Regions from separate parts of the Homo sapiens genome. Here all the other regions are linked to region 4. The links are contacts of gene promoters, found by promoter capture Hi-C in human tissues and cell types (Jung and others, 2019). All regions are on one chromosome and are shown on one strand. The core of a region is centred on a gene start or on the middle of the fragment in contact, and the rest is flanking DNA. Distances in the headings are between cores, read along the strand shown.

The links. The method cuts DNA at HindIII sites, captures the fragments that hold promoters and counts their contacts. A contact is called where the count stands out against the background at its distance.
Region 1: the fragment with the promoter of ERCC4 here is called in contact with the fragment with the promoter of CPPED1 in region 4 in 1 of the 25 tissues and cell types used here (dorsolateral prefrontal cortex).
Region 2: a contact is called between a fragment that was not itself captured here and the fragment with the promoter of CPPED1 in region 4, in 2 of the 25 tissues and cell types used here (dorsolateral prefrontal cortex and lymphoblastoid cells).
Region 3: a fragment that was not itself captured here is called in contact with the fragment with the promoter of CPPED1 in region 4 in 3 of the 25 tissues and cell types used here (H1 embryonic stem cells, dorsolateral prefrontal cortex and mesendoderm cells).
Region 5: a contact is called between a fragment that was not itself captured here and the fragment with the promoter of CPPED1 in region 4, in 1 of the 25 tissues and cell types used here (heart left ventricle).

Annotation. Positions count from the first base shown.
Region 1 is chr16:13,918,899-13,921,598 of GRCh38, reverse strand. ERCC4 (ERCC excision repair 4, endonuclease catalytic subunit) reads right to left here and starts at 1,445. Exons shown (of 11, transcript NM_005236.3): 1 at 1,227-1,445. The coding sequence starts at 1,433. All of the region lies in intron 1 of LOC105371093 (a long non-coding RNA gene), which reads left to right. It overlaps LOC124903647 (a long non-coding RNA gene), which reads left to right and starts at 1,521. Exons shown (of 2, transcript XR_007065001.1): 1 at 1,521-1,920; 2 at 2,016-2,134. RefSeq lists enhancers at 992-1,201, 1,242-1,601, 1,812-1,861. The HindIII fragment of the contact is 8,609 bases long and covers 1-2,700 here.
Region 2 is chr16:13,898,203-13,900,902 of GRCh38, reverse strand. It overlaps LOC105371093 (a long non-coding RNA gene), which reads left to right. Exons shown (of 4, transcript XR_007065000.1): 3 at 2,383-2,508. Among named protein-coding and RNA genes, the nearest start is that of ERCC4, 21 kb to the left of the region's middle. The HindIII fragment of the contact is 8,964 bases long and covers 1-2,700 here.
Region 3 is chr16:13,866,111-13,868,810 of GRCh38, reverse strand. No RefSeq gene overlaps it. Among named protein-coding and RNA genes, the nearest start is that of ERCC4, 53 kb to the left of the region's middle. RefSeq lists an enhancer at 2,425-2,700. The HindIII fragment of the contact is 6,401 bases long and covers 1-2,700 here.
Region 4 is chr16:12,802,504-12,805,203 of GRCh38, reverse strand. CPPED1 (calcineurin like phosphoesterase domain containing 1) reads left to right here and starts at 1,317. Exons shown (of 4, transcript NM_018340.3): 1 at 1,317-1,497. The coding sequence starts at 1,428. RefSeq lists a silencer at 1,236-1,285 and an enhancer at 1,366-1,735. The HindIII fragment of the contact is 16,943 bases long and covers 1-2,700 here.
Region 5 is chr16:14,443,850-14,446,549 of GRCh38, reverse strand. The region is part of intron 23 of PARN (poly(A)-specific ribonuclease); the gene reads left to right. Among named protein-coding and RNA genes, the nearest start is that of LINC03107, 16 kb to the right of the region's middle. RefSeq lists an enhancer at 417-917. The HindIII fragment of the contact is 4,437 bases long and covers 1-2,700 here.

The sequences.
Region 1 (2,700 bases), core at 196-2,695, 1.1 Mb before region 4:
ACTTCATGTCACTGGGTCCCTTGGCTTGGTTTATTTATATCCCCAGTTTAAAACCATCTTTACTAGGCCCTGTGTGTTGCCTTAGGCCCTATGCCAAGCACTGGGGATACCTAGATGAATCAAACAGGATCCCTGCCCTCAAAGAGACTGTGGTCACTCTTCTCAGCTGACATTTTTCTCCCGGCCACCTGATATATCTAGGGGATCATCAGACTTGTCCGACCAAGCTGTGTCCCCTCTCAACACCCCTCAGACCCATGTGTAGCCCCATTCCATCTTTCTCAGTGTTCTCCATTGTCCTTAACTGTAGTTAACCTTTGCCAACATCCTCAGCGTCAAGCTCCAATCCCTTTCTGACCCTATGGCCCTCTTAACACAGCCTTGGTGAATGTCCTATTTCCTGGTCCCTCCTTTTCCCTATTGGGGTTTTTCCAGCGCCTCAGCATCTCCTTTCATGTCTCCCCATCACCCTCAGAGATCTTCCATCCTCATCACTGTTCCCTTTCAGGGACCTTCCTTCTGCCCCCAGAAACTCCCTTAATGGCCAACTTCAGGACTCTCCCGTTATTCCTATCCAGATCCTCCTTCCGACATCTCCCCCTCCCCTGCAGCGACCTCCGATCCTCTCCTACCACTCAGAGCCCCTTCACCTTTCAGTGCCCTTGCACCCATGTCAGGGACCTGCATCCTTCTGGGGACCCCTCCCATCCCTCTTAGTGTTGTCAGGGAATTGCATCCTTCTCGGGACCCCTTCCATCATTCTCACTGTGCCTGCACAGTGTCAGGGACCCGCATCCCCTGGGGACCCCTCCCATTTCTCTTAGTGTTCTTGAACTCTGGTCAAAGACTTGCATCCTTCTTGGGACCCCTCCCTTCCCTCTCAGAGTCCCCGCACAGTGTCAGGGACTGGCATTCCTCTTAGTGTTCTTCAACTCCTGCCAGGGACCTGCAGCCTTCTCGGGGCCCCTCCAATTCTTATCAGTGTCCCCGCACGGTGTGAGCGACCGGTATCCTCCTAGCGACCCCTTACATACGTCTGTGTTCCCGCAGTGTGAGGGACCTGCATCCCCCTGGGGACCCCTGCCATCCTTCTCTGTGTCATCGCGTAGTGTCAGGGGCCTGAATCCCCCTCAGAGCCCCTCCATCCCTGTCAGAGGCCTCGCATCCGCTCAGGAGGCCCTCAACACTCTCGGAGTCCCCTCACTCCCGCGCCAGCGCGGCCGCACCTCCTCGGCCGGCTGCGTGTTGAGCACCAGCACCAGGCAGGCTGGGTGGCAGTGCAGCTGGAGAAAGTGGTAGAGGAGCCGGTCCGCGCCGAGCCCGCGGGCGCACACTACTAGCCCGTCAGTGTCGAGCAGTTCCAGCACCAGCTGTCGCTCGTACTCCAGCAGCGGCGCCATGGCAATCCGTCGAGCCGGCTGCCCTGACTCCATGGAAGCTCTTCCGGGTCGCAGCCGAACGCAGCCGAAGGAAGCCGACTCCTAGTGGAGAGTAGGCCGAACTCAACCGAAGAGAGCCGAGTCCGAGAGGACGGCAGCCAGCCGAACGTAGCCGAGGAGAGCTGAGACTGAGATGATCGTGGGCCGAACGCAGCCGAAGAGGAGCCGAGGCCACGACAGGCGCGCTCTCAGAAAGCCGAAGAGAGCCGAGCCTGAGAAGGCAAGCGTTGGCCGAACTCAGCCGAAGAAGAGCCGAGTGGAGCCGAAGATTCATGGAGTCACCTGTAGGGGCTGGCGCCCCCTGTCGGTGTAGCTTGCAGATATCAGGCTCCATTCACGTCTCTTTTGAGTTTCCACATCCCCTGGCACCCTAGCCTCAAGCTGCCAAAAAGCAAGGGAAGGGGAAGTAAGCCTAAGGAGCTTAATCCCCCGACATCGACAGTTGAAAAAGTTACTGGTCAATATTCCAAATGCGCCAAGAGTTAGTAGCACCTGTTTCCTAGGGTGGTTTTTGGCCCTTCCTTTTGCGATTACTCCCCATCCTTCTTTTAATTTTTTTTTTCTTTCCCGAGACAGGATGTTGATATGTTGCCCAGGCTGGAGTGCAGTGGCTGTGGAATAAGCAGAATCATTTACTGACTTCAGACCTCTGTTTGCCTCCCAAAGACTTCAATACAATAAACTATTTTTAAAAATCCCTCCTTCCACTAGAGGGACACCTCCCGCAGTGTTTGTTCTATACCTAGAAATGCCTGATAGTTGAACTAGTAGAGGAATTGTTTTGTATAGAAACCCCCCACCTTTGTTATTAGAAAATAGAAAATACAAGTAAACAAAAATGAAAATCACTTGTTTCCATTACTTGGAAATAACCACTGTTAACATCACGAAATCTATTTTATTTAGTCCTTTTTTTTCTATCTATATACACATTCTCTCATCACACGGAGTTCTTTTACCGACACGAGATAATTAATATCCCTGATTTAAATCCCCAGCTTTGTCATTAACATTTGGCAAACCTCTGAACATGATGTTTCATATTCTTTTACAAAGTCCTTTTATATGGCTGATGAGATTTCCATTATGTGGGTGTACTTACCTAATTGCTTATTAGAGGACATTTAGTCTGTTTCTGCTTTTTCCCTTCCAGTAATATAAATAATATTTCACTAAACATCTTTGTATGTAAATTCAGCCGTGGCCTTCAGATACACGTCTAGAAATGAATAATCACTGGGATAAAGAGAAAAAAATTTGT
Region 2 (2,700 bases), core at 39-2,538, 1.1 Mb before region 4:
AGGCAGAGGTGGGCGGATCACCTGAGGTCAGGAGTTCGAGACCAGCCTGGCCAACATGATGAAACCCTGTCTCTACTAAAAATATGAAAATTAAGCCGGGCACAGTGACTCACGCCTGTAATCCCAGCACTTTGGGAGGCCGAGGTGGGCAGATCACGAGGTCAGGAGATCAAGACAATCCTGGCTAACACGGTGAAACCTCGTCTCTACTAAAAAAAATACAAAAAATTAGCTGCATGTGGTGGCATGCACCTGTAGTCCCAGCTACTCGGGAGGCTGAGGCAGGAGAATCACTTGAATCCCAGCTACTTGGGAGGCTGAGGTAGGGGAATCACTTGACCCCAGGAGATGGAGGTTGAAGTTAGCTGAGATCATGCTACTGCACTCCAGCTAGGACCACGGAGTGAGACTCTATCTCAAAAAAAAAAAAAAAAAAAAAAAAAGAGGCTGGGAGTGGTGGCTTACACCTGTAATCCCAGCACTTTGGGAGGCTGAGGCGGGCGGATCACGAGGTCAGGAGATCGAGACCATCCTGGCTAACGGGGTGAAACCCCATCTCTACTAAAAATACAAAAAATTAGCCAGGCGTGGTGGGGGGTGCCTGTAGTCCCAGCTACTCGGGAGGCTGAGGCGGGAGAATGGTGTGAACCCAGGAGGCGGAGCTTGCAGCGAACCGAGATCACGCCACTGCACTCCAGCCTGGGTGACAGAACGAGACTCTGTCTCAAAAAAAAAAAAAAAAAAAGAAAAAGAAAAAAAAAGAGAAAGAATAGCAGAGTAGAAAGACTGCAGAAACTTAATTTTTGTGATATACATCTACCTCTAGCCTTGGCTTGTCTACTTCTGGACTTCTTTCATATGTGAGAAAAATAAACCTCTAATTTGTTGAAGCCACTGTTATCTTTTTGGGATTTGTCACTAGCTGATAAATGTAATTCGTAACTGTTGTGGAGACATCTTGTGTTATTTAAAAGTGTGGAATGTTTATAGGCAAATAGTAACCATTACTCACTGTTGTAATTAATGTGAAAAACTGCAGTGTTTTTATTAAGAGGGAATTAAGCTTCAGCATTAAGCTAGTAATATCAATAAGAGGCATTTATAGTAGCTCTGAAGATAGCTGCAAGCTGTCATTACCCTAATAGGGTACAACACTCGCTGCCACAGCCGGGATCTTTTATCTTTTTTTTTTTTTTTGAGACAGCGTCTCGCTTTGTTATCCAGACTGTAGCGCAGTGGTGTGATTTTGGCTCCCTGCAACCTCCACCTCCTGGGTTCAAGTGATTCACCTGCCTCAGCCTACAGTAGCTGGGATTACAGGCGCTCACGTCACCACGCCTGGCTAATTTTTATATTTTTTAAGTAGAAACAGGGTTTCACGATGTTGCCCAGGCTGGTCTCGAACTCCTAGCCTCAAGTGATCCGCCCGACTTGGCCTCCCAAAGTGCTGGGGTTAGAGGCGTGAGCCAGCACTCCTGGCCCACAGCCAGGATCTTGGTAGCAGCTGTAGGATCAGTGCCACCTGATTCGGTGGTCGTTTGAGAGGCCACGCAAACTTAGGTGAGGGTAATAACACACATGCTGCATTTAATGCATAAAATAAGATGATTTATTTTAACAAAATGGTGCACATCAATGGGTGAACCCAGGCCATAGCAGCGCCTTGAGTAGGGATGCACAGCAAACTGACTCTGGGAATAAAAATGTGATGGGAGAACTTGTATGTATCCAAGCATTGTGATCTGCTTTATTCTCTTTTTTTTTTTTTTTTTTTTTTTTTTTTTTTTTTTTTTTTTGAGACGGAGTCTCATTTTGTTGCCCAGGCTGGAGTGCAGTGGCATGATATCGGCTCACTGCAACTTCTGCCTCCCAGATCAAGCAATTCTCATGCGTCAGCCTCCGGAGTGGCTGGGACTACAGCACCTGCCACCATGCCCAGCTAATTTTTGTATTTTTAGTAGAGGTGGGGTTTCACAGTCTCTACTAAAAATACAAAATTGTTGTATTTTTACAACAATTTTGGCCAGACTAGTCTCAAACTCCTGACCTCAAGTGATCCACCCACCTTGGCCTCCCAATGTGTTGGGATTACAGGCGTGAGCCACCCTGCCCAGTGTGGAATTTGCATTTCTAACAAGTTCTCCTAGGTGCTGGTGCTGCTGCTAACTCTGGTCTGGGGACCACATTTTGAGAACGATTGTATTAAGCCAAGTCCCATAGTGGAGTTATTTTTAGATGAAAAAGATCCATTTGAGCTGTTTACCCAGATCAAATTAATTAGGTACTTGTCAAATCTCCTCATTTCACTTTCTGAAGTGTAAAAATGAAATTAACCTCTGAAATGACTTTCCTTTTATTCCTCCCTCTCTCCCATGTTTTGAGCATTACTGAACCAGGCACAAAGGAGTGTAGTAAAAGGACATTTCTTACCCTGAGCCTGGAAAGGGCATGGCATTTGCAGCCTGGCAGAGTCTGATTTTCACCCCATTCCATCCCATCTGACTTCATGTGAGTATTTTGGTCTTAATGCCCTCATCTGAAACATGTTAACGATTTCCTATCCTAGACATCAAGCTGATGCAGTTATTAAAAAAGGAGACAGACGAAGCGAAGAGAACCTCATGCATCCCCTTGGAAAGAGAATTTTTTTTTCTTTCTTCTTGAGAAAATTCCTATAGCACTGATTCAAACTTTTTTCTT
Region 3 (2,700 bases), core at 88-2,587, 1.1 Mb before region 4:
GGTTCTTCCCAATCGATCTAAAGGAAAAACCTCTCTACCCATCACCAAATTGGAGGAGAATGTTGCTGCCTTCTGGGAGATATATACAGAGAAGTTTATAGCTAACAGCTTTCTTACAGCTACAAGGAAACTGGTTTTAAGATAATACTAATGCTTTGGCTGGCAGAGTAGCAAGATGGAAAGAACCTAGGTCCTTAACAATATCATCGAGTGGCTGAAAAAAACCAGCTCTGAATCCCGCCCAATCTCGGAAATCCCTAGACTTCCTGTTAAATGAGATATATTAAATTGTCTTTATTGTTCAAACTAGATAAAATTGATATTTTGGTTATTTGTAGTAATAGTTTTCCTTTTTAAAACAGACTTTAAAAGGAAACTGAAGTTTAGAGAAGTTAGCACCAACAGCAGCATCAACAACAACGATATTAAATGACAAAGCCAAGACTCCAACCCTTGATAGTCTGCAGGCTACACTCCATGCCCAAACCCAGTCCCACAGTGTTGCCTCCTCGTGAATACAATATAGAAAGTGTTTGGGAGTTTCTCAGGGGTTTGAGGAAGGGGGAGAGAAATAACTGACAAGTAGGGAAGATGTGGAAAATATTAAATAAACCCCATTATTCCCATAGAACTTGGAACAATAGACATGCCAGCAAAGAGAAAAAATGCTTGGTTCAAACTCTAGTAGAGAGATACAGTTATACTACAAACTTTGATAAACTTCATGGGACTTGAATTTTGATGTAAACTACAATTGATGCTTTTGTGTATTTTTGGAGGGACTACCCTACCCTTTTTAATCTTCCTTCCCTTCGTTTCTTGTTCTGTGATTAGGAGATGGGAAGAGATCATTTTCCTACTTAAAACCAAAAGAAAAAGCCCACATCCCTTTAGTCCAGAATAAAGGATAGGTTGACAAGTCATCACTACTTGATTTTACTTTTGTTGCTATCTCCTGGAGTGTGACTTATTGGACCTTTGCCTAAAGTTGGATTTGCTTGTCACTTAGATGTTGCAAAGTAGCTTCACGAAAGCTCTCTTAGCAAACTTGCTGATTGATGGAATGGATGATGCAGTTGAAACTGAAATCTGCTGAGAGACAAAGTAGAGAAAAATTTTGATTGTTAGAAAAATCAAGAAAGTAACTTCACTAGAAAAAGCAGAAGTTGTTTTCAAATAGTAGGCTCCACTGCATGCTATAGGACCTTACATTTTTATTTTGAAAAGGTTTAAGAATACAGAAAGCTTGAATAGGCATTTCTCCAAGGAAGATACATAAATGGCCAATAAGTAGATGAAAAGGTGTTCAATATCATCATTAAGGACATGCAACCCAAAACCACAGTGAAATATCCCTTCATACCTACTAGGATGGCTATAACAACAACAACAACAAAGAGAAGATAGTGTTAGCGAGGATGGGGAGAAATTGGAACCCTTATGAAGCGCTGGTTGGAATGTAGGACGGTTTAGATGCTATGGAAAGGAGTATAGTGGTTCCTCAAAAAATGAAACATAGAGTTACCATATGACCTAGCAATTCTGTTCCTAGGTATACAACAAAAAATTGGAAACACGGACTCCAATAGTTACTTCCATGGCAATGTTTATTGTAGCATTATTCACAATAGCCAAAAGGTGAAAACAACCCAAGAGTTCATCAACAGATGAATAAATAAACAAAATGTGGTACACACACACACACACACACACACACACACACACACGCTGGGGTATTATTCAGCCATAAAAAGAAAGAAAGTTCTGATACATGTTACAACATGGATTGACTTTGAAAGCATTATGCTAAGTGATATAGGCCAACAAAAAGGACAAATATTGTGTGATTCTACTTGTATGAAATATCTAGAATAGGGAAATTTATAGAGACAGAAGGTAGATTAGAAGTTACCAAAGGCCAAGGGAGAGGAGCATAAGGAGTTATTGCTTATTGCTCTCTCTTTAGGGTGGTGAAATTTTGGAAATAGACAGTGGTGATGGTTTTACAACACTGTGAATGTAATTAGTAAAATTTAAACAAAAAATACAAAAAGGAACAGAGAATAATATAGCAGTCACCCATGCAACCACTGGGTAGAATTGACAAATATTAACAATTTTATTTTATTTACTTCAGATGTTTCTTAAAAATAAAGCAAAACAGTGGCGGTGGTTTTACAACATTGTGAATGTAATTTGTAAAATTTAAAGACAAAATGCAAAAAGGAACAGAGAATAATATAGCAGCCACCCATGCAACCACTGGGTAGAATTGACAAATATTAACATTTTATTTTATTTACTTCAGATGTTTCTTAAAAATAAAGCAAAACATTGCTGATACAGTTTTTCCCATGTAGCAGATATGATTAGTATCCCATGCCACATCCCTTGGCCAATCTCTTTAGGCCTCTTGCAGCTATGGTGGATGGTTTCCAGGCACGCTGACTGCTTACGCCCTGGAGCACACGTTTCTCTGCCCCAGGGTTCCCTCTAGTGGCGAGAGAGCTTGCTTAGCCCGTCCACAGGGCAATCCCAAAGGACTGGAGGCGCAATGCCCCAAGGTCAATCCTCGATCAATGAGAGAAGGGAGTTGGAAAATAATTATCCCAGCTGCCTTGTCCCTTAGTGGATTGATTCTGAGGCATGGCTATTCAGGAGGTTCCTGCTGAGATTGAGTCCCAATTGCCCTAGATTAAT
Region 4 (2,700 bases), core at 68-2,567:
AGAGCTCCCCTGCAGTGCTTGTTAAAAACAGATCATTTTCAGGCCAGGCACTGTGGCTCATGCCTGTAATCCTAGCACTCTAGGAGGCCCGGGTGGGTGGATTGCTTGAGCTCAGGAGTTCCAGATCAGCCTGGGCAACATAGTCAAACTCGTCTCTACTAAAAATACAAAGTATTAGCCAGGCATGGTGGCGCACGCCAATAGTGCCAGCCACTTAGGAGGCTGAGGTGGGAGAATCACCTGAGCCCAGGAGATCGAGACTGCAGAGATTGTGCCACTGCACTCCAGCCTAGGCAACCAGAGTGAGACCCTGTCTCAAAACAACAACAACAACAACAAAACACAGATCATTTTCATAGAGATTTGGATTCAATAGGTCCATTCTGGAATTTGTATTTTCAACACGTTTGACAAATGCTGGCTAAGTAGTTCACTACAATGGCTCTTGAGTTGAAGAGACACTAATTTGGTTACTCGCAGCTTTACTACCTCTCTAGATGTGTGTCACCTTGTGCAAGTTCGTTCATCTCTCTGAGCGTCAGTTTCCCCAAATGACGGATGCAGCTAATAACAGCACCACCTCCTAGGGCTGTAGTGGGGATTAAGTGAGCAGCGTGCAAAGTGCTTAGCGCCCTGCCTGGTGCATAGCAAGCAAAGATAATAACAGAAAGATGGTGGCAGCCACTGGGAAGTTCAGGCTGAGACAGTCTTCCAAGACGTCCACCTTTTCATCTTTTTTTTTTTTTTTTTTGTATTGGCAAGGTCTCTCGCCGTGTTGCCCAGGCTGGTCTCCAACACCTGGACTCAAGCGATCCTCCCTCCTTGGCCTCCCAAAGAGCTGGGGTTACAGGCGTAAGCCACCCCAGTGGCTCCTTCTGACTTTATGATAGAGTTGTCAGATAAAAAAAAATCAGGACGCTTCCATTCAAACCTGCAAAAAGAGAAAAATTTAAAAAAATTAGGACGCCCAGTTCAATTGGAATTTCAGATAATGAAAAAAAAATTTAACGTAAGTAGCTCCCAAATACTGCATAGGACATATTTATACCAAGTCAGTCATTCTTTAAAAAAAAAAATCTGAAATTCCAATTTAACCGGGAGTCCTGCATTTTTACTTGTTAAATCTAGTAACTCTGCCTTTAGGGAAGGACTGACCCCAAAGCCTTATCCCCGCCCACGCGTGCCCTAGACAGTCTCCACTCGCCAGGCGCGCAGGTCGATCCCAGAGGGGCCGCTGGCGCCTCCGCTCCGCCCAGGCAGCACTAGTGGCGCCCCGAGCCACCGGGCCCCTCCCCGTCCCGCCCCAGTCCCGCCCCGAGATCAAAGGGCGTCGCCCAAAGCGGGACAGGTCCAGCGGTTGTTCTGTGTGAAGTCGCGCGGCTTCCACCCACGCAGTGTTCTAAGTGAAGGCCAGAAACTCGCTCGCCATGTCGGCTGCAGAGGCGGGGGGTGTTTTCCACAGAGCCAGGGGCAGGACCCTGGCCGCGTTTCCCGCAGGTACTGCCCGCCCCTCACCCGGGGAGGGGACTCTGGGGCTGCGGAACCTTCCGCCGGGGGAACCTTTTGTTCAGGTGTGCGCTCCGCCAGTCGGACACCATCCGGGGCTGCACCGGGGCCTGGGAGCCGCCATAGCTGCATCAAAGCCTGCTCTTAGGGATTCCAGGGGCGCAGTTGAGAGGCGAGGCCGAGAGAGCGATCTGGTCTAGGAGCCTCCTTGGCCTTGACCTAACTTCCCCCAGAGAAGGGAAGTAAGAGGAGGGTAGCAAAGCATAGTTAATGACAGCTTGGACTCTGCAGCGAGACCTGGTTTCCAAGCTGTGCATTAGCATCTTGGCCTCAGCTTCCACATCTGTGAAACGGGAATACTTGTGGGTGTTACTGGATAAGCGTTCGGTGCATGTTAGAGGGTGTCGGTTTTATTAAGGTTGTTCACCGTTATGTATTCTGTACTCCATAATGACGTTTATTTAAGTCATTCACCGAAATGGTAACACTGCCCCATCAGAGCAGTAGAGAGGGAGGGCATTCGAGAGTCGTAGTGAAGTGCTTGGATTTTGGATTTAGATTATCTGCTTTGCCTTAAAAATGGGTTTGATAATACCTGCCTCATAGGGTTGTTGGAAGCGTAAACAGATCAAAAGTATTTTTGTAACCCGGTGTTGGACGCATGCTAGGTGCTAAGTAAAGAGGGAGGTTTGTTTCTGGTTTGTTGATTCCCCTCTGTGGCTTTTTGCTGCCTGCAGCCAGATCGCCTCCCAGGCTCTCACCAGCTTTATACCCCCAGGGAAGTCACCCTAAATGCCCTATATGATCAGGCTTGTGTCCACTTCCTTCAGGGTTGTCATTCTCTCTCTTGCCCAGTTCTGCAACAGGTTTTGTTGTTGCCCTTGTTTGAACTGCATTTAAAAGGGCCAAGGCCGTTCTTTCCCTGAGGGTCTTGGCGCTTGCTGTTTTCTGCTTCTTTAGCAGGGTTGGTGAGCCTGGCTCTCTCAACCGTCACACCTCATTTTAAAGTTCATTCACTTCCTCAGAGACTTTACCTGCTACCTTATCTAAAGTAGGTTTCTCCGGTAATTCTATGGTAAAACCTTATTTATTCATTTAAGGCGGAGTCTTGCTTTATTGCCCAGGCTGGAGTGCAGTGGCACGATCTTGGCTCACTGTAACCTCCGCCTCCCGGGTTCAAGCGATTCTCCTGCC
Region 5 (2,700 bases), core at 61-2,560, 1.6 Mb before region 4:
TACATGTTATTTTCAGTAGCAGCGTTTTCACTGTTTCCAGCAAAACCCCCAGGCAACCTGGATTTCTCTCCGAAGCAGAATTATATAAGAAGCAAAGGAAACAGGAAATTAGCACCTGTTGAGAGCCTACTACATGCTAGACGCTGTAGTAGGAGCCATTTCTCTCCTTATTTCATTTAATTTTCACCGTAGCCCTGAGGTGGGAATCATCATCCTTATTTGATGAAGCAGATGCCTGGGCTCAGCGAGGCTAAGTGTGCGGGGCCATGCTGCGCTTAAGAAGCACAGCCGAAAGGCAGACCCAGGTCTGCCTGAGCTGAATCCCATGTCCTCTCCACCCCGCAGATGTGCCTCACTCAGCCCTTCATGCACACATGCCACACAGGGCCACAGCAAGAGGCCAGAAGGGCATCTTGTCAGTCAGCACATGGAAAAGGCCATTCCCTGCTGCAGGGGGCGGTCCAGCAAGGCAGCAGTCACAGTGACAGTAATCATAGCCACTGCTTATTGAGTGCTTATTACTGGAGCCAGGACAGTGCTTAATGTGTAACTGAAATTCTTTCATTTAAATCCTTGAGACAGTCATCATTATCCATTTTACAGTTAAGAAAACGGAGGCCCAAAGGGTTATGTGAGTTGCCCAAAGTCCCAGAGCCATTAAGTCTGTCCTACAAGAAAGCTGGTGAGGCCAGGCTCGGTGGCTCACGCCTGTAATCCGAGCACTTTGGGAGGCCAAGACGGGTGGATCACTTGAGGTCAGGAGTTCAAGACCAGCATGGCCAACATGGCAAAACCACGTCTCTACTAAAAATACAAAAAATTAGCCAGGTGTGGTGGCGCATGCCGGTAGTCCCAGCTACTAAGGAGACTGAAGTAGGGGGACTGCCTCAGCCCAGGGAGGTCAAGGCTACAGTGAGCCAAGATTGCGCCACTGCACTCCATCCTGGGCAACAGAGTGACACCCTGTCTTACATACACACACACAAAAGAAAGTGAGTGCTTTTAACCAAGGTTATGTGTTGAGAGACACTGACCCAGACACAATTATAATCATTCTCCTTTGTCTCACATCGTGACAGTTGTCACGGTTAGCAGAACTAACAATCAAATCAAAGGAAAGTAGTAGTCAAGTGGTGGAACTTGATTCATACCCAAGCTATGAATGCACTGTTTTAATTAATCCCCTTTTGCATGTGGCCCGATCTGACTGTGGGGAGTTTTCTGAATCTCATGGATATTAATGAAATCAGACAAGTAGCAAAAATGTCACATATGCTTTTTGTACATTATGCTGAAGCTGAATTTCAACAGAAAACTTAAACTTGTGTTTGAAGCCTGGATTGGATGTTTTAGCTGTCTCTTGACTCTGGGTGTCTCTCTTTACTTACCTCCTGTCCTTTCCCTGACTTAACTATTGGAGGGGGCCAGGCATGGTAGCTCACAACTATAATCCCACCACTCTGGGAAGCTGAAGCAGGAGGATGACCTGAGCCCGGGAGTTTGAGACCAGCCTGGGCAATATAGTGACACCTTTTCTCTACAAAAAAAAAAAAAAAAAAAAAAAAATTTAAATATTAGCTGCACGGGCATGTAGTCCCAGGTACTCAGGAGGCTGAATCGGGAGGATCGCTTGAGCCCAGGAGTTTTGACTGCAGTGAGCTATGATCGCATCAGTGCACTCCAACCTGGGGGACACAGTGAGACCTTGTCTCAAGAAAAGAAAGAAGAAAAAGTATTGGAGAAGTTTTAAATCTGTAGCATCCTTAGTCTTCAAATTTCATACCTTTATTACCACTGTCATGTTTCGTGTGCTCAACAAATGTTAAAATAATGAATGTCAGCATGATTTCTAGAGATCGTACTGAGCAGGATTTAGAGGGGCAGGGGGGTTTCCCCACTTGTATTCCTGTCCTTCATAGCTGTCTCTTCTGGATTTTTTTAGTTTATTACTCCTCAGGGACAAGCTTTTCGTTTTTCCCCTCTATATCAGCATAATCTGAAAAATATTAAAATTAAAATAACTAATAATAGACTGCATTAATAGATTAGTTCCTTTTATAGCTTTCATCATTTTAAGTGAAAACTTTCTATAAGTTATTTAGGGTTTTGAATTTATAATACTGTAATTAAAATAAGGGTTTTTTTCCTCCCATTGACAGTAAAGCTGTCACTGCCACAAGATTTGAGCTAAAAAAAAAATTGTAGATTTTGTACTTCTTTGTCAGTGCTGCCAAAAAAAAAAGAGAAAGAGACATCTTGACAACTTTTAATTGAATCAGAGAACTTGAGTGAATCGAGCTTTCTTCTGGAGCACCATTCATCGAGCAAGACCCCTGACGGTGCCAGGTGGAAACTTAATGGATCCTTTCCACCTGGTTTGTTTTCAGTGTTTAATCCTATTAGTATCAGCAGGATATAGGTCAGGATATCAGGTGCAGAACCTGTGGAATCAGCCAATTTGGCTTGCTCATTTACTTTAATAAGGTCCCATAATGAGTGAGAGTACAAAGTTCAAGCCCTGTTGAGGGTCTGCATTAAACTCTCAGAAGTATTTAGAGTGTGCCAGGAGCCGCGAAGGTCTGGTTCGGGTGGTGGCGGGAACTGTATTAGAGTGCTAGGCACGGCGCGACAAAGTCTGTCCAACCCAAAACGGTGCTGAGGCGTTGGGTGTGAGCTCCAGTACTCAGAAAAGCATCTCAG